7 separate regions of the Homo sapiens genome follow, and all the other regions are linked to region 5. Evidence: promoter capture Hi-C in 16 types of primary human blood cells and fetal thymus (Javierre and others, 2016). All regions are on one chromosome and are shown on one strand. The core of a region is centred on a gene start or on the middle of the fragment in contact, and the rest is flanking DNA. Distances in the headings are between cores, read along the strand shown.

Evidence for each region. Contacts are between HindIII fragments. The CHiCAGO score rates a contact against its expected background, and 5 or more counts as called.
Region 1: a contact is called between the fragment with the promoter of PPM1M here and the fragment with the promoter of NPRL2 in region 5, in 1 of 17 cell types (total B cells). The highest score is 5.3, in total B cells.
Region 2: a contact is called between the fragment with the promoter of LINC00696 here and the fragment with the promoter of NPRL2 in region 5, in 3 of 17 cell types (endothelial precursors, erythroblasts and total B cells). The highest score is 7.1, in endothelial precursors.
Region 3: a contact is called between a fragment that was not itself captured here and the fragment with the promoter of NPRL2 in region 5, in 1 of 17 cell types (fetal thymus). The highest score is 5.1, in fetal thymus.
Region 4: the fragment with the promoter of ALAS1 here is called in contact with the fragment with the promoter of NPRL2 in region 5 in 3 of 17 cell types (total B cells, erythroblasts and neutrophils); the score reaches 9.6 in total B cells.
Region 6: the fragment with the promoter of RPL29 here is called in contact with the fragment with the promoter of NPRL2 in region 5 in 5 of 17 cell types (total B cells, erythroblasts, naive CD4 T cells and 2 more); the score reaches 8.2 in total B cells.
Region 7: a fragment that was not itself captured here is called in contact with the fragment with the promoter of NPRL2 in region 5 in 1 of 17 cell types (non-activated CD4 T cells); the score reaches 5.5 in non-activated CD4 T cells.

Annotation. Positions count from the first base shown.
Region 1 is chr3:52,243,270-52,247,022 of GRCh38, reverse strand. It overlaps PPM1M (protein phosphatase, Mg2+/Mn2+ dependent 1M), which reads right to left and starts at 1,264. Exons shown (of 10, transcript NM_144641.4): 1 at 975-1,264; 2 at 211-328; 3 at 1-49. The coding sequence starts at 1,198. RefSeq lists silencers at 921-980, 1,021-1,390. The HindIII fragment of the contact is 3,516 bases long and covers 485-3,753 here.
Region 2 is chr3:52,063,326-52,066,585 of GRCh38, reverse strand. LINC00696 (long intergenic non-protein coding RNA 696) reads left to right here and starts at 1,474. Exons shown (of 1, transcript NR_027331.1): 1 at 1,474-3,260. The HindIII fragment of the contact is 16,366 bases long and covers 1-3,260 here.
Region 3 is chr3:52,277,336-52,280,703 of GRCh38, reverse strand. It overlaps WDR82 (WD repeat domain 82), which reads left to right and starts at 2,055. Exons shown (of 9, transcript NM_025222.4): 1 at 2,055-2,503. The coding sequence starts at 2,343. RefSeq lists enhancers at 1,432-2,063, 2,533-2,632, 3,043-3,122, 3,143-3,192, 2,696-3,328 and silencers at 1,793-2,082, 2,263-2,342. The HindIII fragment of the contact is 710 bases long and covers 997-1,706 here.
Region 4 is chr3:52,196,722-52,200,199 of GRCh38, reverse strand. It overlaps ALAS1 (5'-aminolevulinate synthase 1), which reads right to left and starts at 2,040. Exons shown (of 12, transcript NM_000688.6): 1 at 1,945-2,040; 2 at 1,352-1,528; 3 at 760-990. The coding sequence starts at 958. RefSeq lists silencers at 1,799-1,878, 1,989-2,058 and enhancers at 2,199-2,418, 2,429-2,498. The HindIII fragment of the contact is 12,746 bases long and covers 1-3,478 here.
Region 5 is chr3:50,349,139-50,352,435 of GRCh38, reverse strand. NPRL2 (NPR2 like, GATOR1 complex subunit) reads left to right here and starts at 1,661. Exons shown (of 11, transcript NM_006545.5): 1 at 1,661-1,861; 2 at 2,414-2,505; 3 at 2,603-2,771; 4 at 2,942-3,050. The coding sequence starts at 1,784. CYB561D2 (cytochrome b561 family member D2) reads right to left here and starts at 1,574. Exons shown (of 4, transcript NM_001291284.2): 1 at 1,452-1,574; 2 at 876-1,027; 3 at 390-427. The coding sequence starts at 1,002. It overlaps LOC127898564 (CYB561D2-LOC101928965), which reads right to left and starts at 1,574. Exons shown (of 5, transcript NR_183066.1): 1 at 1,452-1,574; 2 at 876-1,027. RefSeq lists an enhancer at 1,400-1,619. The HindIII fragment of the contact is 2,178 bases long and covers 1-1,671 here.
Region 6 is chr3:51,994,579-51,998,143 of GRCh38, reverse strand. It overlaps RPL29 (ribosomal protein L29), which reads left to right and starts at 2,249. Exons shown (of 4, transcript NM_000992.3): 1 at 2,249-2,287; 2 at 2,675-2,719; 3 at 3,038-3,102. The coding sequence starts at 2,683. RefSeq lists an enhancer at 2,145-2,304. The HindIII fragment of the contact is 1,082 bases long and covers 2,188-3,269 here.
Region 7 is chr3:51,675,092-51,678,736 of GRCh38, reverse strand. The region is part of intron 2 of TEX264 (testis expressed 264, ER-phagy receptor); the gene reads right to left. Among named protein-coding and RNA genes, the nearest start is that of TEX264, 5.7 kb to the right of the region's middle. RefSeq lists an enhancer at 1-112. The HindIII fragment of the contact is 6,271 bases long and covers 1-3,645 here.

The DNA.
Region 1 (3,753 bases), core at 15-2,514, 1.9 Mb before region 5:
CAGGACCGCCGTGCCCATCGAACAGTGCCCAGTAATGGCCTGTCAGGAACTGCACAGGAAGGGCTCAGTGTCAGCCTCTGCCTGACTTCCCCACTTGTCCCCTGACGCAACCTAACTAGGACCTGGGGCAGCAGGGTAAGAACCTCAGCCTGCAGGTCGTGGCCCCAGCCTGTCGGAGGGATTCCAGCCAAGAACTCAGACTGCACTCACCTCCTCTGGGCACAGGGTCAGCCACTCTTCTTCAGCCCCAAACTCACATCTCCGGATGCACAGCTTCCCACAGGCGGCTTGATCCTCATTGAATTCAGATTTCTCTGCATTGATAATCCTGAGGCCGGGAAATGGTAAGCGACCCTCCAGGGACACACCTATGTCCCCATGGGCACAGGGACCCAAGCCAGCACAGGGAGAAGACCCCTCCCTCTGGGGCAACAGCTCCCCAGTGCTGTCCCTAACACACACTTAGACAACCACGATGTAAGCTTCCTAACTTCACTGGCCTCATGGCTAAGGTAAAAGTCAGGGCCCAGCTCCTCTGGAGCCTACCTGGTGACCCAGGGCTAGACGGTAAGGGTAGGTTGCCATTCCTGCCCCTGTCCTGTCGCAGCCCAAAGCCCTGTCCCATACAGCGCAGGTCATACCCAGGGTGAGATGGTGGGGGTAGAGGGCGAGGGGAAATCTCCAAAGCCCCGAATGCTGGAACTCTACCGAGTCTCTGGGCCTCATCTTGGAAGCCCCTGGGCTGCAGGTCCTTCCCGACCTCCTGTCTTCTCTGAGGGGGAGGTCGGAATCCCAAGGAAAACGCTGGGTCGGGATGACCGGGAAGTTGTCAGGATTCGGAGGTGAGGGCAAGAAGGGGCTGTCCACAGGTGGGTGGGGACTGTCACTCAGCTCCTCCCGCTTTCTAGGCGGGCGCAGGACCCGAAGCGGGTTCAGGCCCGGGCCTGAGCTGGGGGTCGGGGAGGGGCACTCACTCGGCGTAGCCTGCATTCCAGGGTAGCGTGCGTCCTCGTGCGGGGCTGCGCACGGGCCGGGAGTCTGGGCGGCGCGAGGCGTCGGCCGCCCCGGGGCTGGAGCTGGAGCCGCGAAGGAAGCGGGGCCGTCGGTAGGGCACGGGGCTGGCATGCGGCCCAGGCGGCCGCGGCGCGGGGAGCGGCTCCCCAGGCAGGAAGCGGCGCCGGAACCAGCCGGCGGACATGGCGCGGCGGCAGGGGGCTGCCCGCGGAGCGCGGGGCGCTAGGGCTGGGCCGCCCGCGGGAGGAAGAAGCGGGCCGCGGGCGGAGCCGAGGGAGGGGTGCGCCGGCGGGAGGCGGGGCCGGGGGCGCGCAGACGGGAGGCGTCGCCCCCCAGCCCCGACCTCCGCCCGGGAGTGCGTGCGCGGCTGGTTCGCTGACTCCAGGGGTCAACGCTCGCGACCGCCTGAAGAAGCCCACGCCGGCATCAGCCCCATTTGACAAGCAGGAAAACCGAGGCCTAGAGAGGCGAAGTCGCCTGCCCAGCGTCCCACAGTAGCCAGGGAGGACTGTTCACCCACGCTTGCGGGGCACTGGTGGTTGAGAGGAAAAGTCCCCCACACTCCGCGGGGCCAGCGTCGCGCAGATCCTCGGACCTCCTCCTGCTGGGTGGGGACCTGACGCAAGGGGAAGATGGGGACAAAATGAGCTGGGAGGTGTCAGACCCCCACATTGAGTAAATGCCACCGAGCACAGGTTCCTTCAGGCGGCCTCCAATCCTCTCCACCCCGGCCTGCCACCCTCCACCCCAGACGGGCTTAGTGGGCACCTTGGCTTTCCCCGTCCTGAGAGGCTGCTGCCACCCTCGAGGACAGTCTTCCAAATGGCTGTCCCTGCATTCAAGATGTCTTCGCGGAATAGACAGCAGGATCCTTACTGGACTGTGAGTGAGTGACGGACAAGAGAAATCTGTGTGAGTGTAAAGGGGAATCCGTGGTCCCCCAAAGGCTCCAGCTGGTCCGAGTTCAGACCTGGGACGGAGGGAAGTGAAAGACGAGGAACCATCTTGCGGTCTCTCAACCACTGGCTAGCTGTCACCAGGCGGTCAGCCGCAGTGTCCCCTTCACATCTGCGAGTTAACAAAGCACTTTGTCACCCATTTGTCACTCAAGTCCAACTCCCTGTGCAAAAGTGTTACTTTGGCCGGAGGCAGTGGCTCACGCCTGTAATCCCAGTGCTTTGGGAGGCCGAGGCGGGCGGATCACTTGAGGTCAGGAGTTCGAGACCAGCCTGGCCAACATGGTGAAACCCCGTCTGTACTAAAAATTAGCCAAGCGTGGTGGTGTGCGCCTGTAATCCCAGTTACTCAGAAGGCTGGGGCACAAGAATCGGTTGAACCCAGGAGGCAGAAGTTGCAGTGAGCCGAGATGGAGCCACTGCACTCCAGCCAGGGCAACAGAGCGAGACTCAGTCTCAAAAAAAAGAGTGTTACATCATATGGACGATTCTGAGGCCCATGGAGGGGAAGTCTTGGACACCCAGGGCTGTACTATTTCCATTATGACAATGCAGCTGACTCAATCCTCGCCCCCAGGGCACTTCTCTTCCCCTTTCCTCCTCCAGGAAGCCAGGGCTTGCCAATTAAAAGCGGCTAAGGCTCCACAGCCCAGTGCCTGCATATGAGCTGTATGAGGAGTCCACCTTCACCTCCACTCCCTAGCCCAGGTAGACGCTCAGTAAGCCCTACTTCCTCCCAGCAGCTAGTCCTGCCCCAGTGGGAGTTCCTCGGGCCCAAGAAGGAAGGTTCTTAGGGCAGGGACCTGTGCCCAACACCCACTCCCTCCGATGACTCAGTCCCAGACCAGCCTGGGGGCTGATTGACTGAACCCACAGTGTCTGCTGGGGCCACACTGGGCACAGGAACGCAGTGCTAATGGAGACAAGCCAGGCCTCTGCCCACCAAGCCCCCTGCAGTGATGGTAGCAGTTCTGGTGGATGCTGCTTCATCCAGCTGGCAAGAGGATAGGGGCGATGTCAGAGAAAGTTTCCCAAAGGACCTCTGAGCTGTGAATTGTCACTGTGACAGAACAGAAAGGTACCAGGGTGGGGCAGGCCCAATTCAGTCTATGGGGCCACTTCCTCACCCTCACCAGTTGATGCCTCAGAGGATTTTAAAGTCTAAAATTGGACAAAACAAAGTGCATACACTCTATTCCCCAACCCACCCCTGGGTGGGGGAAAGCCTTGTCCTGAAGTATTTTCACAGAAGCTCTGGGCAACCAAATGTCATAGGCAGTCTGTTGCACAGCTTAGCCATTGTCTATTTTCAGAGCCATGTGGAACCACATGGCAATCCCATCCTCTCTGTTCCAAGGTGGCCTGAGTGTTCCTTCAGTGCTACCAGGCTCTTCTGGCTTCCTGGGCTCCTAAGCGCCTCACTCTTGCCTGGATCTTAAGCCTATGTCTCTTGGTTTACTCCCTCATTTTGCTGAAGTGCATCCTTCAACAACTTTCCAACAAAGGGTGACTGGGAGGTACTTTCCTGAGAGATGTTATTTATCTATCTTTTTCTGTGAATGGTCTGTTTGTATCCTTTGCCACACTTTCTACTGGGCCATTTGTCTTTTTCTTTTTCTTTTTTTTTTTTTTGATACAGAGTTTCGCTCTTGTTGCCCAGGCTGGAGTGCAATGGTGTGATCTCGGCTCCCCATGACCTCTGCCTCCTGGGCTTAAGTGATTCTCCTGCCTCAGCCTCCTGAGTAGCTGAGATTACAGGCATGTGCCACCACGCCTGGCTACC
Region 2 (3,260 bases), core at 225-2,724, 1.7 Mb before region 5:
GGCTTGGAGAGGGGAGGCCAGTGGTGGTCAAAATTGGAGCCAAGTGTCTTGGTCAGGCTCCCCTATCTCCACCCCAACCCAATCTTATCCCTGCCCTGTCCCAACACACATGGCATACTCACACCTTGGTCACCTGAGGGCCACATAGGGCTGTCCTGCTATGCCTGGCAAAGGGCCTGCCAGGTGGTCAGCACTTGACCTTCTCTGGCACAGGTGGGTCAGGCCAAGGCCACTCCTGCTGCCCAAAGTGCATAGGGGTAGTCGAGGGCCCATACCCAGCCACTTAGGACAAAGAGGCCTTTCCTTTCCCTCTGATGGGCCCAATGTGGAACTTCCCTGGCTGCCCCATAGTCCCTGGGAGTCAGGGGAGGCAGAAGGTACTGCCCTGCTTTATAGATGGAGAGATTAAGGCCCAGGGGCTGGGGCACTGCAGAGGCCCCCCAAGTGTGTTGCAGGCAGCAGAGCTGTGTTTCCCCAGCTCCATGGGCTCCAGCTCCTTGGGCCTTTTTGTTGTTCCTGGGAGCTCCAAGTCTGGGTAGTGCCCATGGCCTGGGGAATCCAGCTACCCCTCAGACTGAGTTCTTGGGCCGGGCCTTGGGGCTGTGGGCTGGCTGATGCTTCAGGGTCTCTGGGGAGGTCTCCAGCTCCAGCCAAATGCCTCCCAACACTCTTCAGCCCACCAGCCCTGGGCTCAGCTGCTCCTAGGGCTCAGGCTAGAGGGTTGTCCTGTTGGAGATGGGTGTCAGGGCAGTGCTGTCCTCTGCTGGGAGACTACGTAAGCCACGGGGAGGGGCAGGGAGGTGGGCAGGGGCCCAGGCAGAGTAGGCCCTTGTCCATCCTGTCCCCACCTTGGAGGGCCCACTAGGAGCCCTGAGAGAGCCATTGAACTCCTCCCTCCTCGAGGGCCTGATCTTTTCAGGAAGGGAGTCATCCAAGTCTTGAAGCATGTGCGCCTGTGGCCGGAGTCAGGCTGGGTGGGGCCAGGGCAGGAAGGGGAGTCCTTAGACTATTTCCTGCTGTTGCCTACCTGGGAACAGTCCGCATCCAGGTCCCGGCAGGCAGCTGGCCAGCTGAACCACGTGGAATGGTGCTGGGCTATGAGGCCTCAAGCCAGCAACCCTGCACCTGGGCCAGGCCAGCCGGCTCCCAAGCCATTTCCCAGCTTCGTCATGGTCACCCTCACTGTCACCATCAATGCCTCATAGGAAGGATTCCTGAAAAACGGGGCCGTGTGGGCAGGCAGGGAGGGGACCAGACAGGCCCAGGCAGCAGGCAGATGCTAATGAGGCAATTAAGCCCCTGGCACATCCGCCCACGAGGTGCCATGAGAACTCCTGGCCTCTTTTGCCCTCCCCGCCTCAAAGGTTGGACTGTCTTCACTGTCAGGAACCTCCCACTGCCAGCTCTGCCAATCAAAAAACCATAGGTTGGTTTGGCAAAGATAGAACCAGGGCAACCCCCAGCCCCATCACTACTTCTTGCCATTGCTCTGGTTGAGCAAATGCCTGCCCGAGATGTCTTCTCCCCCTCCCCATCCCCTGCTCAAACCACCTGGGCTCCAGGCCCTTCCTGGCAGAGGTGGCCTTCGAAAGATCAGAAATTTTGAGCAGGGGGCCAAGAGTGCCATGGTGGCCACGTGGGCATGCAGCTAAGGATTCCTGCTCCTGCAAAGCCCTGGCTCCCATCCCTCAGGCTCCCAGGTGGGCTCATGGCGTGCAGCCCACAAGCCCTGGAGTGTAAGGCAGGCGAGAGATCATCCCAGGGCAGAGATGCTGAGGATCGTGGGGAAGGGGATGCAAGAGGCGAGGGTGTAGCCCTCACCCGTGGCTTTGGAGCAGGGAACCCAGTCCACCTGGGTTTATCTGAGTCCTTTCCCCTTCTCCTCTGCCTGCCTCTGAGGCCCGAGGACATCAGATGCAGCACACCTGATTTCCCTGGGCTGTTGAGTGTCTTCTCCTGGCTCTCTAGGGATGACCTCCGTGTCAGCAGATGGGGTGCCCAGGTGAGTCAGAACCCCTGACCCAGCCCAGCCCCTCCTCCAGGCTTGAAGGGGGGTGGCGGTGGGGTATAGGACTAAAACCCAGGCTTAAGACCCCAGGGACCTTCAGGTCCATGAAGAGGTGGGAGTTTGGGCTCATTCTGTGGAGGACGGAGGAGCTGTAGCTGGGTGGGGGAAATCAAGGGCTATGGTCCAAGGCCAGGATGAGGCCTGCCAGGCAAGGTGCCAGCAGGTCCATCCCTTCATGTCAGGGAGCCCTCTGGCTCCAGAGACTCTCACTGAGTGACTCTGGGCAGGTCATACAGAACAGGCTGAGGCCCAAGGAGGGAATGGAAGTAAGAGGCTTCTGGAATCATCGAGTATGGCAACGGAGGGCCAAAGATGTTTTGTTTTGTTTTGTGGGTTTTGTTTGCTTTGGTTTTTTGAGACAGCCTCTCGCTTTGTCGCCCAGGCTGGAGTGCAGCGGCATGATTATGGCTTACTGCAGCCTTTGCCCCTCAGGCTCAAGAAATCCTTCCACCCAGTGTCCTGAGGAGCTGGGACTACAGACATGCACCACCACACCCAGCAATTTTTTTTTTTTTTCCTGTAGAGATGGGGTTTCGCCATGTTGCCCAGGCTGGTCTCGAACTCCTGAGTTCAAGTGATCCACCCACCTCAGCCTCCCAAAATGCTGAGATTACAGGTGTGAGCCACCACGCCTGGCCCCAAACATGTTTAAATCATAGGACCATGTGCTCATGGCTGACAACACAGAAGAGTCTAGAAGTAGGCCAGGGTTCCAATCCTGGCTCTGCCACTTCCCAGGTGCCCACTGTGGCCCTCAGAGGATGAGTGGGTTTGGGGGACAGAATAAGAAGGTAGTCAAAGGCGAGAGCTGGGAGAAGAGGGTTTCAGAAGGGGGATCAGTGAGGGCAGAGGCCCTGCAGAAGGAGCCCGGGCTGGGGAAGTGCGGGTGAGAGAGTGAAAGCTGCTGGAGAATCCAGGACGAGGAGAAGAGGGAGGGGAGGGGTCACAGAGCATCGTGTAGACTCTATGCAGAGTGTAGACTCTATGCTGGGGACAGTGGGAGGCTGTGGAGGAGGAGAGGCTGCCTCCACCTTCTCAAAAGATCCCTCTGGCTGCTGTGTGGGGAATGACTGTCGGGATGGAGGCAGAGGCCTGGAGAGGAGGCACGGGAGGTGGTCTAGGGGAGAAGGGGGAGAATCTGGGCTGTGTAGTGGTGGCCAGATGGCTTCTGAAATTGAGTACTGGGATGGAT
Region 3 (3,368 bases), core at 102-2,601, 1.9 Mb before region 5:
AGCCCCACTATAATAGGGCAGGGAGCCAGGCTAGGAATTGGAAACAGTAAGAATGCGAAACAGGATGAGGATTTGAAGACCCTCTTAAAAATGGGGGAAAAAAAAAAAGACTGCATTCCAAAAATAATGCAGAAAGTCAAGTCTTGGGAGGAAGGTTTGGTCTTAACGGTGAAATCTGGAAAAGGTATAGGAAGTACAATACTTGAAAAATACCCTGCAAAGATTTATTTTGGCTGGCAACATTCAGTAGATTACAGCTGTTTCTGTGGTTATTTTTGTAGATTAACATGGACCAAAATATGGCATCATCTTACTGGGTGTGTTCACTTCCCGACAGTTCTAGAACATGGTACTCGATCTGTCCTTGTTGCCTTCTAAACTATTCGAAGCAGACGCTGTATCAGACTTTCTAGCTTCTGAAATAAAGGCACAGGAATTACAGGGAAGCAGAGCAAGTGATCTGGGACGTGGAGGGTTTTTCTTCCATTGTGTGCAGTTTGGAAAGTTGCCATCTATTCAGGTTTCACTCAAACCGGCTTTTTCCAGACCCCAGAACAAATTGTAGCCAGAAGCTCTGCTCTTTGTCAGGAGGCAATTATACCCCAGACTTAGCCAGGAACTTGCCTCTTCCCTTAGAGAACAACTTCTCTTTATGTATAAGGATCCTGGCTCTCCTTTTACCCAGGGGGTTGGGATACAGCCTCTAGTTCTTTCTAGAAAGACCCCAACTGTCCCAGGGTTTCCATTTTGTTTTTTACCATTGCACAGGTCTCTGGATAATAACCTTCCTAATAGCGACTGAAATGTCTCACAGCCTTTCCTCGTTTTTGTTTCTCTTTAGCTAAAGAAAGCAAAAATAAATAATCCCCATCTTCATTGTTGGAAACCCCAGGCAATTAACCTTTTGAGGAGCTTCACACAAGATACAGATCTGTGAAGCCACATAGGTTGGCATTGAGTTTAACCCCTTGCCCAGAAAGTTAAGGTTAGGAAGCTTGGTTCCTATTTTCTGTTCAAATACTGCTTTCCTTTGTTAGAGATAAACTTTCTTTTAAGGCAAATAATCACTTATATGATAGAACCTTTAAAATAATCCTGTTGACTACAAACAGGATAGTGCAACTCTTCCAAATCTTGAATGTGGTGGTGACTGCATGACTGTGTATGGGTGTCAGAACATAAAACTAGCCACTAAAAAGGCTAATTTTTGGGGGGAAACCGTCTGCTCTGTCGCCCAGCCTGGAATGCAGTGGCACGATTTCGGCGCACTGCAGCCTCCGCCTTTCTCAATTCTCGTGCCTCAGCCGCGCCATCATGCCCGGCTAATTTTTTGTATTTTAGTAGAGGTGGGGTTTTGTCATGTTGGCCAGGCTGGTCTCAACTCCTGAGCTCAAGCGATCATCCCGCCTCGGCCTCCCAAAGTGGTGGGTTTAAAGGCGTGAGCCACCGCGCCCGGCCTAAAAAGGCTGATTTTTACTGTACCTAAAGTCTACCTCGATTAAGAAAACGAGGCCGGGTGCGGGTGAGGTCAGGAGTTCGAGACCAGCCTGGCCAACATGGTGAACCCCCGTCTCTACCAAAAATACAAAATTAGCTGGGCGTGGTGGCGCGCGCCTGAGCGAGAGACTCCATCTCCAAAAAAAAAAAAAAAAGTAAAGAGGTCGAAGCTGTCTAAGCGGACGCTGCGGTGGACTAGCGGTCAAGCTTGCCTGCGAGCGGCTCACCTGAGTCACCCCCAAAACCGGCCTCCAGCAGCATACCCGACCCTGCAGTACCCCCTCCCACGCAGCCTGCGATCGGGACGCCTGCAGGAGGCGCCAGAGTCTTCGCGGGGGTTGCAATCCCGCGCAAGGGCCCCCGGCTCCCAAGGCATCCGCAACCTTCCGATCCCCCGGGAAGGCCCTGCACGTCTCGGCCGCTCCCTGCCAGCAGCCCGCCCCGCCACTACACTCCGCCGCGGCCGCGCTGACGTCACCACCCCGCCTCCCCGCCTTGCTCCGCCGTTCCCGCCCCGCCCCCTTTCCCGGCGTGCGCCGCGGCTGAGGCTCCTCGCCCTCAGCTTCTGCCTGTCGCCCCAAAATGGCGGACACAATGAGCCGGCGACGCGCCGGTTGTCCGTGAGGTGGCTGTGAGGACGAACGGTCGGCGAGGCTCCACAGTCCAGGCAGAAGACCCTCGACCAAGCAGGAAGAAGAGGAGGAGGCGGCCCAACTGTTGGCCGACTTCCCGCTAGCCGCCGGCGCGGCGCCCGCCCCGCCTGGGTTGGCCCCTCGGCAGCCCGCCCGCTCGCCGCCGGGCCCCGCCCCGGCCCTGCGCCGCCGCTGCCTTCCCCAGCCGCCGCCATGAAGCTGACCGACAGCGTGTTGCGGAGCTTCCGCGTCGCTAAGGTGTTCCGCGAAAACTCGGACAAGATTAACTGCTTCGATTTCAGCCCCAACGGCGAGACGGTCATCTCGAGTAGCGACGACGACTCCATCGTGCTCTATGACTGCCAGGAGGGCAAGTGAGTGCGGCGGAGGCCCTGGGCCCGAGTCTCAGTGCCTCCCTCCGGTGGCCCAGCACAGGTCCCTCGGCCTGCCCTCCGTCCCGACTTCAGCCCCCAGCCTATTTTGCACGCGTTCCTGCCAGGGCCGCCTCCACCCCGCAGCCGTCCAGGAGACCTTTTATTTTTTTCTTCTTAAAAAAAAAAGATAACGATAGTCATAATTTTATAATATTATTTGTATGTCTTCGGTCTCCTTTGAGCGCTATGCATCACTTGCCAAACCCCACCTTGACCTTGACCTTTAAACGCCCGGTCCGCCCACCCTGGGCCCACCAGGTAGCGTTTTCAGCTCCTCAGGCTGTCAAAGGTGCTGGTCTGCTCCGGCCTCGACGCAGGACTGCAGGGGCTGCTTTTCTGCCTCCTTCGGCAGCGTCAGCTCTCTCTTGTGCTCTCTCCACTGTGACCTCGATTCCGCCCTGGCACTCCGCCCATCCCCTGCCCCTCAGCTTCCCGCGGCCTTTCTGCCGTCAGACCGCGTGGGTTGCACTTCTTAGCTGTCAGGATTTATTTGTTGTGCCCCTTTGAGCCCCCTTGCTTTTTCTTCCTGCTCCTAGCCTTTCTCTTACTCATTCAGACTTGGTGCCCACGTTCATAAGTGAACTTTTCAGCAACATCTAAAACTTCCTTTTTGCCACACACAAACGAACTTGGTCGTCCCATCCTGACCTGAATGTGAGCTTCCGTTAAAACAAAGCAAGCATCGTAGAACAATTTCAGGTTTCCTTTCATACTTTTTTTTTTCTATTACACTTTTTGGTCCACTTTGAATTCCAATTCTGATCATGAAACTTTTATGTTGCCACAAGTCATCTGGAGACCCACC
Region 4 (3,478 bases), core at 791-3,290, 1.8 Mb before region 5:
AATGGTAATTTTTCTTGGGCATTTTACCACAACAGAACAAAAACTTTTAAGAAAAAAAAAATCACTACTTTAAAAAGCCAAAGGGGCCGGGCACGGTGGCTCACGCCTGCAATCCCAGCACTCTGGGAGGCTGAGGCAGGTGGATCATTTGAGGTCAGGAGTTTGAGACCAGCCGGACCAACAAGGTGAAACCCTACTAAAAGTACAAAAATTATCTGGGCGTGGTGGTGCATGCCTGTAATTCCAGATACTTGGAAGGCTGAGGCAGGAGAATCACTTGAACCTGGGAGGTGGAGGTTGCAGTAAGCCGAGACTGCATCACTGCACTCCAACCTGGGCGACAGAGCAAGACTCAGTCTCAAAAAAGAAAAATTAAATAAATAAAAAGCCGAAGGCCAAATGTTTAATGAGGGAAATTAGAAGGCTAAATGTTTAATGAGGGAAATTAGAACATTCCAATTTAATATTTATGTGAACGAGGCACTGAGGAAACACTAAAACCCCTATAGACACTAACGTGCAATCCAAAAACCTGTAATGTGCAACACTGGCCACTGTTTCACCTTTAAAGATGGAAAAGCTAAAAGTGCCTACCCTTGGGGGGACAATCATATGAGATAATCTGTGCTCAGAGCCCAGCCTGCACATAGCAGCCCTCTGTGAGTGAGTGTGACCCTCACCACCACTGTGGGGACTGCTTCTAGTCTACCAATGAGCACAAACACCCATACCTGCTCCTTCATTGTCAATGACACTTACTCTCACTGGCCGGAGGGGTTTCTTTGATCTGTTGGTAGTGTACTGCTGCAGTGGACAATGCCCGAGGGGCTGGCTTGGCCCCAACTTCCATCATCTTGGGGCAGTTTTGGGCATAGAACAACAGAGATTTGCCTGCTTTCTGCAGAAAGGCCTGGGGGACTCGGGATAAGAATGGGCAGCGGCGAACAACACTCTCCATGTTCAGGAAGTATGCTGGCTCCTGTGGAAAGACTGATGAAGAGTGACATCAACAGTTGTTAATAATCAGGCAAATATCACTGCAAGCTCACTGGATTCAGGTGTCAACCGCAGTTTATATAAAGGGTACCCTGGAATACTAACACTTCTCCCTCAAAAATGCCTAAGGACAGCACTGATGTGAGCTAAGGAATGGTGACCACACTTTACCCGGGTCACCAACTTCTTCATTCTCCAGCGCTACACAAAGGCACCTGCAAAGCAACTTCACCAAATGAATACTGACAGTACATAATCAAGGGGGCGGAAGGATGAGGGAAAGGTCAAGAACAGGTTTGGGAGGCCAGAGGTTTCTTAGGGAGATGCACAGTGCAGATAAGACATCTTGGCTTACATCTAGGTGGAGAAGAAGCCACTCATCCATCCAGGCAGGGAAGACTCTTAGGGATCCTGACTTTCTCCTGGTCCCCACATCCCCTAAACCCGAGGAAGGGGTCCAGCAGGGTCCCGAGTCCCTGAAGCAAGGATTCCTCCGTGGTCGTGTCCCCACAGCGGGAAGAACTGGGCATAACTGAGAAAGGAGGGGCACAAATGAGGGTAGGGGTATGAGGGCCAGCGCCTTGGGCCTCACTGGGGACGCGCAGGGGCTTATAAAGTCGAGGGAGTTGAGTCTGGAGAAAGAAGGCAGTCCTCCGGCAGTGGGGGTCAGAGGTGACCCGCGGTCGAGGTCTCGAGAATGACGGGAGGGGTATGAGAAGGGAATTCTAAAGCGGCGGGTTCAACCGGGAATAGCCGGAAGGGGCCGAAAGGGGGAAACTGAGGCGGCCGTCTAGGCAAAAGATCTGGAGGATAAACGCTGACCTCAAGGCGGCGGGTGACTGGGACAGTGGGGGATGGGGTCCCAGCACCCGGGGCAGCGGTGCCACGGCTGGCAGGACACCCCGGGGCTTCCTCGGCCGGCGCCGCACCTACCGCGCGGGCCCTCACCTGCGCTGAGGACTGCAGAGGCGGCGGCGAAGGAGGCGGGCACTCAAGTCGAGAAGTCCAAACGAAACGCTCGTTGCCCTTGTCCGGGAGCAGCCTCAGGCCGCGATCGCCGGCGCCTTAATATACAGCGGGAGTGACCGCTGCGCATGCGCCTTGGGCGCTGCCTTCTTCTGCGCAGGCGCGCCGCGTAGCCCTCGGCGAGCCGGGGGGGCGGGGCAGAGAGGCCCACTTCTTGGGCTCTGCGGATATCGGTGCTGCCGGGGATTCCCCGGCTCGCCTGCAGGGAGGAGGAAGCGCTAGGCGGTGGGCGGACGAGGTCTCTTTTCCCGACCTCATCCTGCACCCTCGTGCTGCCTCCCCACCAACTACCCTGGGCTTCAGAACCCTACGCCCCAATTGAGTATAAAATGGCAAGGTCGAGGCGAGGTGCCGCTAGGGCCAAGTTGGGGGCTACAGGGTTGTTAAGCTGGGTGTCTTGGACATGGAGGAAGAAGGAGATCCAAGGGGTTCTGGGCCGGGGTGTTAAGCAGGATCCATCCCGCCTGCGGCTTGCTTTGGAAACTGTGAACAAGGGCTTCCCGGAGGAGGTGGAGCTGGCTATATCGCCCACAAATGGAGTGGTCCTGGCAGGATGCGGAAGAAGCGGGACACTCAGCTGTGGCACTTTCTGGTCTAAGATGATCCAGAGGGGACAGAGGAACAGGGCTAGGGTGGAACCCATCCACTCCACAGCTCTGAGCACTTGGGGAGGAGGGGAAGGCACAGGGCCTGACAATAGTTAGCGTGTAACAAATATTAGCCACTATTTTTATTTTCCATCCAGGGTTGTCTGAAGCCCCTTGCTGGCCACCCTGGGCACCAGCAGGGTGGCTTAGGCCTCCATGCCAAAGGTCAGCGTTGGGCCATACCTCCATTGAGTTTCCCGGGTACAACACATAAAGTGTAGGGCTTGGCAAACCCGTCTCAGGAATGTCAGTCTGGCTTCCTTGCCCCACACCCTTCCCAGCTTGGCTTGGGCTGTGTTGGGCTGGGCCTGTGCCAGGCTCAGAGGTACTCTCCTCCATTCTTGAGGAAAGGGCCTTTGAGGGTATTCCTTTCCCAGCTGAGCATTAACAAGAGGGACAAAGTCCAGAATGATGGTGACCAGGGTGTGTCCAGGTACTTTGCATTTCTGTCTCTGAGCACCCAGCTGGCTGCAAGGCAGGTGAGGTGAGTCTCCACCTTCAGAGGAGGCACCTGGGTTCAGAGTGGCAGTGGGACCAGTCCAGGATGAGGGCTTTGGTCTGAGAGCTCGAGACCCAGTTCTGTGCCATTCAGCCAAGAGATCCTGGGCAGTGCCCATCACCCAGAGAAGATGAGAGAGAAAAGGTCAGCACTTGGACTTGGACCCAAGTGCAGCTGGAAGTGGGAACAGAATAAGGATGATATTGAGTGCTTTGCTCATCTTTGGGCCTTGCTTTCCTTATCTGGGCAATAGGATCATAATCCCTGAAATGCCTGCCTCACAGGTTGTTTTTGTTGTTGTTGTTATTTT
Region 5 (3,297 bases), core at 412-2,911:
CAATCTTGGCTCACTGCAACCTCCGTCTCCTGGGTTCATGCGATTCTCCTGCCTCAGCCTCCCGAGTAGCTGGGACTACAGGCGCGTGCCACCATGCCCGGCTAATTTTTTGTATTTTTAGTAGAGACGGGGTTTCACCATGTTGGCCAAGATGGTCTCGATCTCCTGACCTCAGGTGATGTGCCCGCCTCGGCCTCTAAGTGCTGGGATTACAGGCATGAGCCACCGTGCCCAGCCTCAAGTCTGAAATATATACCATGGGCAGGAGTAGTTGGAGCATGCAACTCTTCCAAACAGATATTAAATGTGGACAAAGATTCAGAGGCTGCCAGGGCCACCAACCATGCCCATGCTCCCACCCCTAAGAACTGCCCAGGCCCACTACTTACAGCCAAAGACATAAGCACCGGGTGCCAGGAGAACAGGCCTGGAATGAGAAGAGGAGGCCTCATGGGGCTGAGGCAAGAAGAAACCAGCCATACCAATCCTTAAGGGTTGAGGAATACCAGCAGCCCATCACCCAAGGAGGTGCTGCCAAACTGTGAGCCCCTTCTTGCTCTGCAACAAGCTGACCCCACACCTATCCTCTCTTCCTGGCCTCTTCCTGGATCAGAGGCCATGCTTTGCCACTCCTCTGGCAGTCCTCCCTCCTTCCCTTACACCTCCTGAGAGGCAGCCAAATGGAGCACCCAGAGAAGGAAAGACAAACCAGGAATTCTGTGTGCCCTGGCCATACCTACCTGCTCCACCTCACTCATCGCTCCAGCACAGAATTCCCTCAACCAGCCAGGCCTGTTCCCGGAAGTCCCACTGCCCTTCCTCCCCAGGAACAGTGGCCCTTCCCTTCCCAGAAGTCAGCTATGAATTCTACTTACTGGAGCCAGGCCTGGCAAGCACAGCCACAAAGATGGTAAAGCCCAGGGCCACAAGGTGGGCGGCAGCGCCAGAAGCAGTACGCAGAGCTCGGTAGATGTGTGACTCGGTCTCCGCAGAAAGGGCCATCGTCAGCCGTGCTAGTGGTTGTAGCCTGAAAGCATAGTAGCGTGGGCCAGGATCTCAGGTGCCCACTGTTCACTCCTCACTGGAGAAAAGGCTGCAAGGCAGGAATGCCACCCTCTTCCAATAAGTTATGGTAGGAAAGAACAGTACCAAGACCAGCACCAGGAATGGTCACAACATGCCAGTCGACGGCCGGCGGCCTGTCAACGTGTACCCATGTCTGAACTGGTACCAATCGCTGGCCCGCCTTCCAGGTAGGAGGCGCAAAGCCATGTAAGACTACAAATCCCAGCGTGTACCACGCCGTCGCCGGCAGTAGAGCCAGCTGGGAGGGCGCGGAGCACTATGGAAATTGTAGTTCCCTGCTGCGGTCCCAGTTACAGCGTGAATCCCTTAGCGCACCGCCTCCCCAAGTGCTGCCAGCATGCTGCCCCTCCACGCTAGGGACTTGCCTGCCTCTGCCGCAGCGCAGATCTGATGCGGTGGTTTCCTCCAAAGAAAGCGGGATACTCCGGGCCCTGCCGCGCGCACCGCCGCTCCGTCACGGAGCCGCTTTACTTCCGGGTGCGACGTCTACCCACCCAGGACTTCCTGGGACGAGCCGTCCCCCGCCCCAGCCACGCCTCTGAGTCGCGCTGCGCAGGCGCCATTGGGCAGAGGGATTGGCAAGCTTGCGTGCCCCAGCGACACAGGCCTCGAGGCTGTCTCTGACAAGTGTTCACAGGAGGTGGGGACGCCTCTGCGCGAGGAACGAGGAGCTACGGGCCTGGGCCCGGTTATTGCCATGGGCAGCGGCTGCCGCATCGAATGCATATTCTTCAGCGAGTTCCACCCCACGCTGGGACCCAAGATCACCTATCAGGTGCCACCCGGGCTCGCGGGACTGGGCGGGAAGAGGGACGTTCTCGAGAGCTCAACTGGCTGCCTGAAGGCAGTAGTTTCCCGTGCTGCACGCAGGCATGCTGCTTCATTCGCAGACAACTGTGAGGCTAGAGGATAGTCAGACCCAGGCCCCCGGCTCCCAATGTGGCAGGGAAGACATACGTCACATTGGCAGTGTTTGTAGGATATCGGGCTGTAGGGATCCGGTTGGGGGGTTCCAGGTCCCACAGAAGGTGAGTTGGGTGACCCATGAGTATCCCTGAACTGAGTGAAGAGTAAATGATGCATAGGAAGTTTAGGTAAGGCAGGAGAAAGTGTTCCAGGTAGAGGGAACAGCATATGCAGAAGCCAGGAAGGAGGTGAGATCATAGCGTATGTTTGGAAACAGAAAGAAGTAATAGGCCTGAGTGGATGGGAGAGAGGGGAACGCTGGAGAAGAGGACTTGGGCTTGGGGGGCATGAGGAGGTCACCATTTGTACTACACCCAGTACAGATGTCCACTGAGGGGCCCATTGCCACTCCCCTCCCCAGGTCCCTGAAGACTTCATCTCCCGAGAGCTGTTTGACACAGTCCAAGTGTACATCATCACCAAGCCAGAGCTGCAGAACAAGCTTATCACTGTGTGAGACCCTAGCTCGGGGTGAGCGGTGGGTGGCAGGGGTTGTCCCAGGAGGAGGAAGGGACAGGCTTGGGGGCCTGACTGTGTTCCAATTATCCAGCACAGCTATGGAAAAGAAGCTGATCGGCTGTCCTGTGTGCATCGAACACAAGAAGTACAGCCGCAATGCTCTCCTCTTCAACCTGGGCTTCGTGTGTGATGCCCAGGCCAAGACCTGCGCCCTCGAGCCCATTGTTAAAAAGCTGGCTGGCTATCTGACCACACTAGAGGTCTGCAATGAGATGGGCTTGGGTTTACCGACAGGCAGAGTTGGGGAAGGTGTTCCCATGTCTCCAAAGTCCCCCAAACCTGGGACCCTGCAAACCAGCTCAGGACTCAGGGCAGCCAACCAGCCAGGGGTCCTGGGATGTGCCCACCATGCTTTCCATGCTCTGTCTAGCTAGAGAGCAGCTTCGTGTCCATGGAGGAGAGCAAGCAGAAGTTGGTGCCCATCATGACCATCTTGCTGGAGGAGCTAAATGCCTCAGGCCGGTGCACTCTGCCCATTGGTATGGCCAGCCTCTGCAAGGACAGCAGAGGGGTAGAGGAGAGATGGGAAAGTGAACCCAGCTAGTCAGGGAGAAGGGCAAGACTCATGAACACATTGGTGGGCAGGAAATAGCCATGGGCTGAGGTGCCCATGTCCAGGGTCCAATGCATGATGGAGCTGGGACTGGGGGTAGGGGGAAAGCAGAGCTCTCCAGCTCTGCCCCTTGGGCAATTCCTTCCCCTTTGTGGGCCTCCGTTTCTCACTCC
Region 6 (3,565 bases), core at 1,000-3,499, 1.6 Mb before region 5:
AGGAATGCTTTGGTAATGAGTCATCCACATGTCCTGCCTCCACAACCTCCTTTCCGCTTCACTCCCTAAACCTCTGCAGTATGCGTCTGTCACTCCACGAACCTGGCTTGTCAAGGAACGTTCACTGGGCATGTGTTTATTAAGCTCTTGCTCTATCTACATTATGCTGAGTTAGGCAGTGGGAAAATGAAGGTGATCAAACCAGTCCCAAACTCTGGGCTCCTATGATAATGGACACATACACAACTAAGTAAACAATGCAATTAGAGTCTGGGAAAGTTCTATAAAGAAAGCAAACCATGGCCGGGCACGGTGGCTTACGCCTGTAATCCCAGCACTTTGGGAGGCCGAGGCGGGCAGACCACCTGAGGTCAGGAGTTCAACACCAGCCTGGCCAACATGGTGAAAACCCGTCTCTACTAAAAATAATTCTTTAAAAATTAGCTGGGAGTGGTGGTGTGCGCCCGTAATCCCAGCTACTCAGGAGGCTGAGGCAGGAGAATCGCTTGAACCCGGGAGGCAGAGGTTGCAGTGAGCTGAGATCGCACCACTGCACTCCAGCCTGGGAGACAGAGTGAGACTGTCTAAAAAAAAGAAAAAAAAAAAAAGAATAGAAAAGAAAGGAAACCATGAGAGGACACAGAATCACTGGTGAGATGAGGCAGTGGTTCTCTATTTTAGATAATGGAGTCCAGGGAGGCCTCTATAGGAAAGAGCACACCATCCAAAAAGCAGGGAGAAGGGCAGTCCAGGTGGCTGGGATAGCAAGTGCAAAGGTCCTGAGGCAGAACACACATTTGTGGTTGGCAGGAAAGAAAGGCAATGCGTTTGGAGAGAAGTAAATGACAGAGGTTGTCAGGGTCAAGTGGGTAAAGAATTGATCTTCAATGCAAGGGGATGTCCTTGCAGATTTAAGGGACAGGATCTGATTTGTATCTTAAAACAAGTCCCCAAGCCCCACTGCCGTGTGGAAAATGAACTATAGGGGGAAGAGGTGGAGAAGGCAACAGAGTTGTTAGAGGCAACAATTTCTCAATTCTGATGTCCAACAGGCATCTCACATTTAATGCATCCAACAAAAATATCTGGCTCATCATTCCCCCTCAAAACAAAACAAACAAAGCCCCTGCTCCCCACTCAATCTTCCATCTCTGTAAACAGCCCACCATTCACCCAGTTGTCAAGCCAAAGACATAGGGGCTATCCTTGCCTCCTTTTTCTCCCTCATCTTCTGTGTCCCAAGTCCAGTACTCTTTCTTTGTCCACTCCTCTGCATTCCCACTGTCCTCCCTCAGGTCCAGGCAGCCCTCTCTCCTTCCTCCCCTCTGCTCCTTCTCCACGAAAGAGTCAGGCGTGCTTTTCTTTTTTTTTTTTGAGACAGAGTCTCGCCCTGTAGCCCAGGCTGGAGTGCAATGGTGCGATCTTGGCTCACTGCAACCTCCACCTCCCAGATTCAAGCAATTCTCCTGCCTCAGCCTCCAGAGTAGCTGGGATTACAGGCACGTGCCACCACGCCCCGTGAATTTTTTTTTTTTTTTTTTTTTTTTTTTTGGATTTTTAGTAGAGATGGGGTTTCACCATGTTGTCCAGGCTGGTCTGGAACTCCTGACCTCGTGATCCGCCCACCTCAGCCTCCCAAAGTGCTGGGATTACAGGGGTGCTTTTAAGAACACAGATCGGCCAGGTGCGGTGGCTCACGCCTGTAATCCCAGCACTTTGGGGGACAGAGGCGAGCGGATCGCGAGGTCAGGAGTTCGAGACCAGCCTGGCCAACATGGTGAAACCCCGTCTCTACTAAAAATGTAAAAATTAGCCGGGCGTGGTGGTGGGCGCCTGTAATCCCAGCTACTCGGGAGGCTGAGGCAAGAGAATCGCTTGAAACCGGAAGGCGGAGGTTGCAGTGGGCCGAGATTGTGCCACTGCCCTCCAGCCTCGGTGGAAGAGCGAAACTCCGTCTCAAAAAAAAAAAAAAAGAAAAAGAACACAGATCTTCTTGCCCAACAACATCCCTCAAGGACTCCTTTCTTTTTCAGTATCTTGAATAAGACTTAAGAGACAGGTCCTGGAGAAACAGAGAAGGGAGGAGGCAGCCTGAAGGGGGCGGAGGCAAGCTCGTAGCACCGCCTCCACGTCTGGCTTGCGTTCTTCCGGGCTTCGGAACTTTTCTTCGCGGAGCCTGGGGAAGCTTTTCCAGTAGTACTTTCCGGCGTTGTTGACCCTATTTCCCGTGCTGCACCGCAGCCCCTTTCTCTTCCGGTTCTAGGCGCTTCGGGAGCCGCGGCTTATGGTGAGTGTTGGCCGCGCGGCATCCGATGCCATCCGCGACTTACGGGTGGCGGCGGGGCGCGGGCTGCGGAGAGGACTGGTGACCGACCGTGTGTCTGTCGGGAGCAAAAGCTGCGGGGTGGGAATGGTGCTTCTAGGTCCTAGGAGGGGGATGGCAGGGAAAGCCACTTTATTGGGGAATGCAGCTTTCCGGGGGTAAGGAGTTGATTTCAGGGCATCATTACCTGGGTTTGGGAGGCCAGGACTGGCGTTTGGTCGTGCAGAGTAAGCCGAGACTCGTGGAGGCTGCACATTCTCTGCCTGCAGGCTCATTCTGACCAGAATGGGGGGGGCAGAGGTGGCCCAGCCTGGCGAGCCCTTAACCCTGATCTCCACTTTTGTCTTCCAGGTGCAGACATGGCCAAGTCCAAGAACCACACCACACACAACCAGTGTAAGTTTTTTGGGCCCTGCCTACATCCCAGACCCTGGCAAGGACTGGTTCAGGCAAACTGGGACAGAGATGAAGGGGCACGTTTCCATTGTGGGCCTGAGGCTGATTGATTTCACCCAGTAATAACTTTAGGGTTTATAGGTTTAGAGATCTACTTGAGATACAGAGTGTTTTGCATTTAGTAGTAAGGGTTTCCCATATCTCAAGTGTAGCTGCTGTAGGAAGTGTTGGTTCTCCCAGACTTGCCAGCTGTGATGTTGGGTGGTCTTATTAGAGGAAAGTTCTTTGTTGGCTTAATTCCCTTTTTTTCTCCCACAGCCCGAAAATGGCACAGAAATGGTATCAAGAAACCCCGATCACAAAGATACGAATCTCTTAAGGGGGTGAGTGCACTGAATCACATGGAAGTGTCTTTTCTTGGTTCCAGGTGCACAGTCAAGGCCTCTCATGTAGTTTTTCTCTAGCTTTGGCTTCTGCCTGAGCACAGCCTAACTGGCCCACCCAAAGCCTGCAATTCCTTTTTCTACCCTACCAGACCCATAATAAAGCTTTCCTTGGTCTCCACAGCCTGAAGTGTAACCCTCTGGTCAGGGTGTAACCTGCCTCCTGAGGGCAGTTTGGCTATCTCCCTTGCTTGGCAGTGGCACTTAGGGTAAGGAGTGGCCTTGTCTGAGTGCGTGCAGGGCACATTCCCACACTGACCAGCCTTATGACCTCCATCTGACCCAGTGCTGGAGTTGGGGTCAGCTTCTCTTCCTGTGTCAGGGGGTTCTAAGGATTAGCTGAGAAGGCTGGAGGGTCTAGGGGAGAGCTGAGCATGTCCCCAGTCTGTTCCTTCCCTTTACT
Region 7 (3,645 bases), core at 700-3,199, 1.3 Mb before region 5:
GTGAGGCTGTGGTCATGCCAGCCAAATGACCACAGGCCCCTGCAGACCTAGTGGCCCTGGGCCTTGGTTCTCATTGGACTAAGGGAAAGGGGGCTTCAATGGCAGTCTTGTTTACTAAAGGCAGAAGCAAGTACCACCAGTTCCCCAACCCACTCCATGCCTGGAGCAAACACCACCTCCTAGGTAGTAGATGTAAGCAGCAAATATAGGCCCACTTGGGCCACATAAATTGAACTAGCTGCCACACCCATCTTGCCCCAGCCAGGCTCCCCATATAAGCAAGCAGGCAGGTTGCTTAAGCCCCAAACATAGCAGCAGAGGTGATGGTGGCACAGGGTGGGGCAGGAGGTAGAGAGCCAGCCTGGCAGACAGGATGGGCCCACAGGCACAGTGATAGCAGCCCAGCCACTAGGGCCTGTCCACAGGCCAGAGCTGGCCAGGATCAAGCGAGGCACTCAGGGTCCTCTCAGCTCCTTCCTTCCCCTCCAACACTGAAGGCTCCCAGAGGGACCAGGCCCCAAAAGGGAGCCTGAAGTCACTTTCCAAGCCCCCAGCACCCACCGCAGAAGCAGGGCTAAAGGCAGAGCAGTTTTTCTAGTCAGGACCCTTCCCCAGTCATGCAAGGGCAGTATGGACCAGTGTGTGTAAGGGAGATCTGTGACTGACATCCGCCTACATGTGATCCTTATCTCTGAACTCATACCCCATCCCTTGCATACCTTGAAGAGGAATGGCCCACACTCCATGAATGCTGGGCTCTGAGGTGGGTGAGTACACCCATGAGCCCCTGCCAGGGTCTGTCCACTTCCCAAAAGACTTCTTCCCCACCTTCCCATTCCCAACCATGCCAAGGGTTTCAGGGATGGAGAATGGAATCCTTCCTCCTGCCTCACAAGAACCACTCACCCAGACCTGCAGCCTCTTCCCATACAGGACTCCAGGGCACAAGGCTAACAGCTCCAGCAGCAGCTACTATGAACAGGTCCACACCAACTGCCACTGTCCAATCTTAGTGGTACCCTTTCTTGTGCTACTTCCTGGGTCCACACCCAGCCTAGGTGGGACCAGCCTACTCCCTGCCCAGCTGAGGACAGGACGAGGCATGGCTAGGGAGCTGTCCGTCACACCTCATGGGGTGGGCAGCATCTAAAGCCAGGTGGCACCTCTCACCTGGTTACTCACCACCCCACTCACAGAGCCTGACACAGCCTCACTGCCTCCCCACACTCACAGAGAAGCAGGTTCTGGCTCCTGTCACTCTGGGCTAGGGAAGGACACAGTGGGGGTGGGACACTGAACAGGTCAGCCTCTATTCTCTTTCTCTGAGAACCAGAGCATGCCACGCTGCACACTGCTGGTGGAGGCAGCCTAGGGGACAAAAACCTTTGGTTCTCAGCCCACTCCAGGACCAGGATGGGGCCTTTCCTCTAGGCTCCTAACACCCACACACTGGCAGGTCCTGGTCCCCATGGTACCCTAGTGCCCAACACAGAGCCTGGTACAGAGCAGGTGCTCAGATATTTGTTAAATGAAAACAAAAACATATGAGATCAGTGCCTTTCTCCTACTATCTGAATCTGTTTCTCCCTCCATAATATGGAGTGTGGACCAGGAGGCCTCAGGTCCTTCCGGACCAGTCTGTGATAGCCACGAGCACCTGAAGCCTGGGGGTCCATGGTTCCCTGAACCTGTTACAATCTCTGTCAGGCAGAGAATGCACTGACCAGCTCCAAGAGTAAATGGGGACCCAAGTGTCCCTGAGCCATCCCAGGTGCCAAGTGTGACCTAGCTCTAAATGGGGACACAGGTGTCTTCTGGACTGACCCAGGACTGGGATGGGCAGGGTCAGAAGGGCCACCTTGACTTGTTCATCATCCTCTGTGCCACCCAAATGACCACAGCCAGGCCAAGGGTCTAGGTTTGCTCAGTCTGACCTCTCAGCATATGTTAGCACAAGTGGTTTTCCCACCCATCTTTGTTGTTGTTAAGCATCTGTTGAGGGCTAAGTGCTGGGGTAAATGCCTCACCTATATCACTTAACTCTTCTCAGTCTACTATGAAGCAGGTATTTTATCATTACTCTGCAGACAAGGAAATAGAGGCTCAGAAACATTATGGGATATGCCTAAGATCACTCAGCAGGACAGTGATGGGACAGAATCAGAACTCGGGACTGCTAGCCTCAAGGCTGTGCTCTCAGGCCACAGTCCCCCAGACAAGCACCCTAGTCAGACTATGACCAACCAACCCTGGAGACCCAGGGCCCACCCCATGGGGTCCACCACATCTCTGGGAAAGCTGCAGGAGGCAGTGGCCAGGCCAGAATATCCCATGCCAGGCTTCTTCCATCTCACTCTTCCCTAGACCAGCCTCCAGCACTGACCCCAGGGTACCCTGCTGCCTTAGCCCTTTCCCATCCAGGAATTAGCACCTCCAACCCAAGAGGCAACCTGTTGATTCCAGAACAGGCAGACACGCCAATGAGAAGACAGCCAGCTGCAAGGACTCTTCTTGCAGAAGGCTCTGACTGGGCCAGGTGTGGAAGGGGGGGCAGGGCCTTACACAACGGAGCCCTTGAAGGGGTGAGGGTCACACATCTGCTCTAGGAGCTCCCCATAGCCCACTGTCTGTCCCATCCCACTCAGGCTCCAGTGCTCCCAACTTCAGTTAGTGCCATCTCCTGGCCATGTGACTGCAAAACCTCAACCAACCCATGTCGCCTCTCACCTGGACCCAGCCCAATCTCTTCTACGGCCTCCTGCCTCATCTCCTTCCCTCCTCCACCTGCCCTTCAGCTAACTTCCTAAAACAAAGGTGGCAAATTGTGCCACATCCTTCTTCTCAACCTGCTGTACTTCCCCACCACCTGGCTGGGCAAACCCTTCCACCTTTCTCCACCCAAGACATGTCTACTAACCACAATTCTCTGGTCATCCCATGTCTTCAGGCTCTTGCTGTCACAGTTTTCTTAGCCAAGTACCCCTTCCCAACAAAGCAAAATTCTACTTACATGAGAAGGCCCAGCTGAAATCTACCCCTTCTCTGAGCCTCCCCAGCAGACTCATGGCAGCCTCCCTGAACCTACAGCTCAAAGTTCTGTGGACATCAAGCACAGTGTCTTGTTGGAGAATCACTTATGTGGGGCTGACATGTCAGCCACACAGAGCTTCCTGAGGGCAGAGCCAGGTCTGATTCATCTCCAGAGTGTAGGTGTAGAGTAGAACCTGGCACAGAGAGGGAACCAGTACATCCTGTTTCAACTAGTGCCCCAGTAAGCCGGTCAGCACACATTGGGTAGACTGCAGGACTTGTGCACTTGAGCTCTCCAGGCAAGGAAATCAGAGCTGGGGATTCCAAATGCTTGGTTTGGCATGGCTTAGTAGTAGAGGCTGAAGAACCCTTGACAGAGCTGCCAGCCCATCCAGCTGTGGGCAGCACCACCCCATAGCATAGCAGTAGGTTACATTAGCAAGCTCTGACTCACCATAGGTTGTAAGAACAGCCAGACGCTCACAGGGTGCTAGTGATGCTGGATTAGTTTTTGACTTCAGCATTCTGAACATTCTAAGTAACTCATCTGGCTCCACTAGCCCCCTTGGCCATCTCCCAGCACCAGCTTGAGGTCTAAGGAAATGCCATATCACC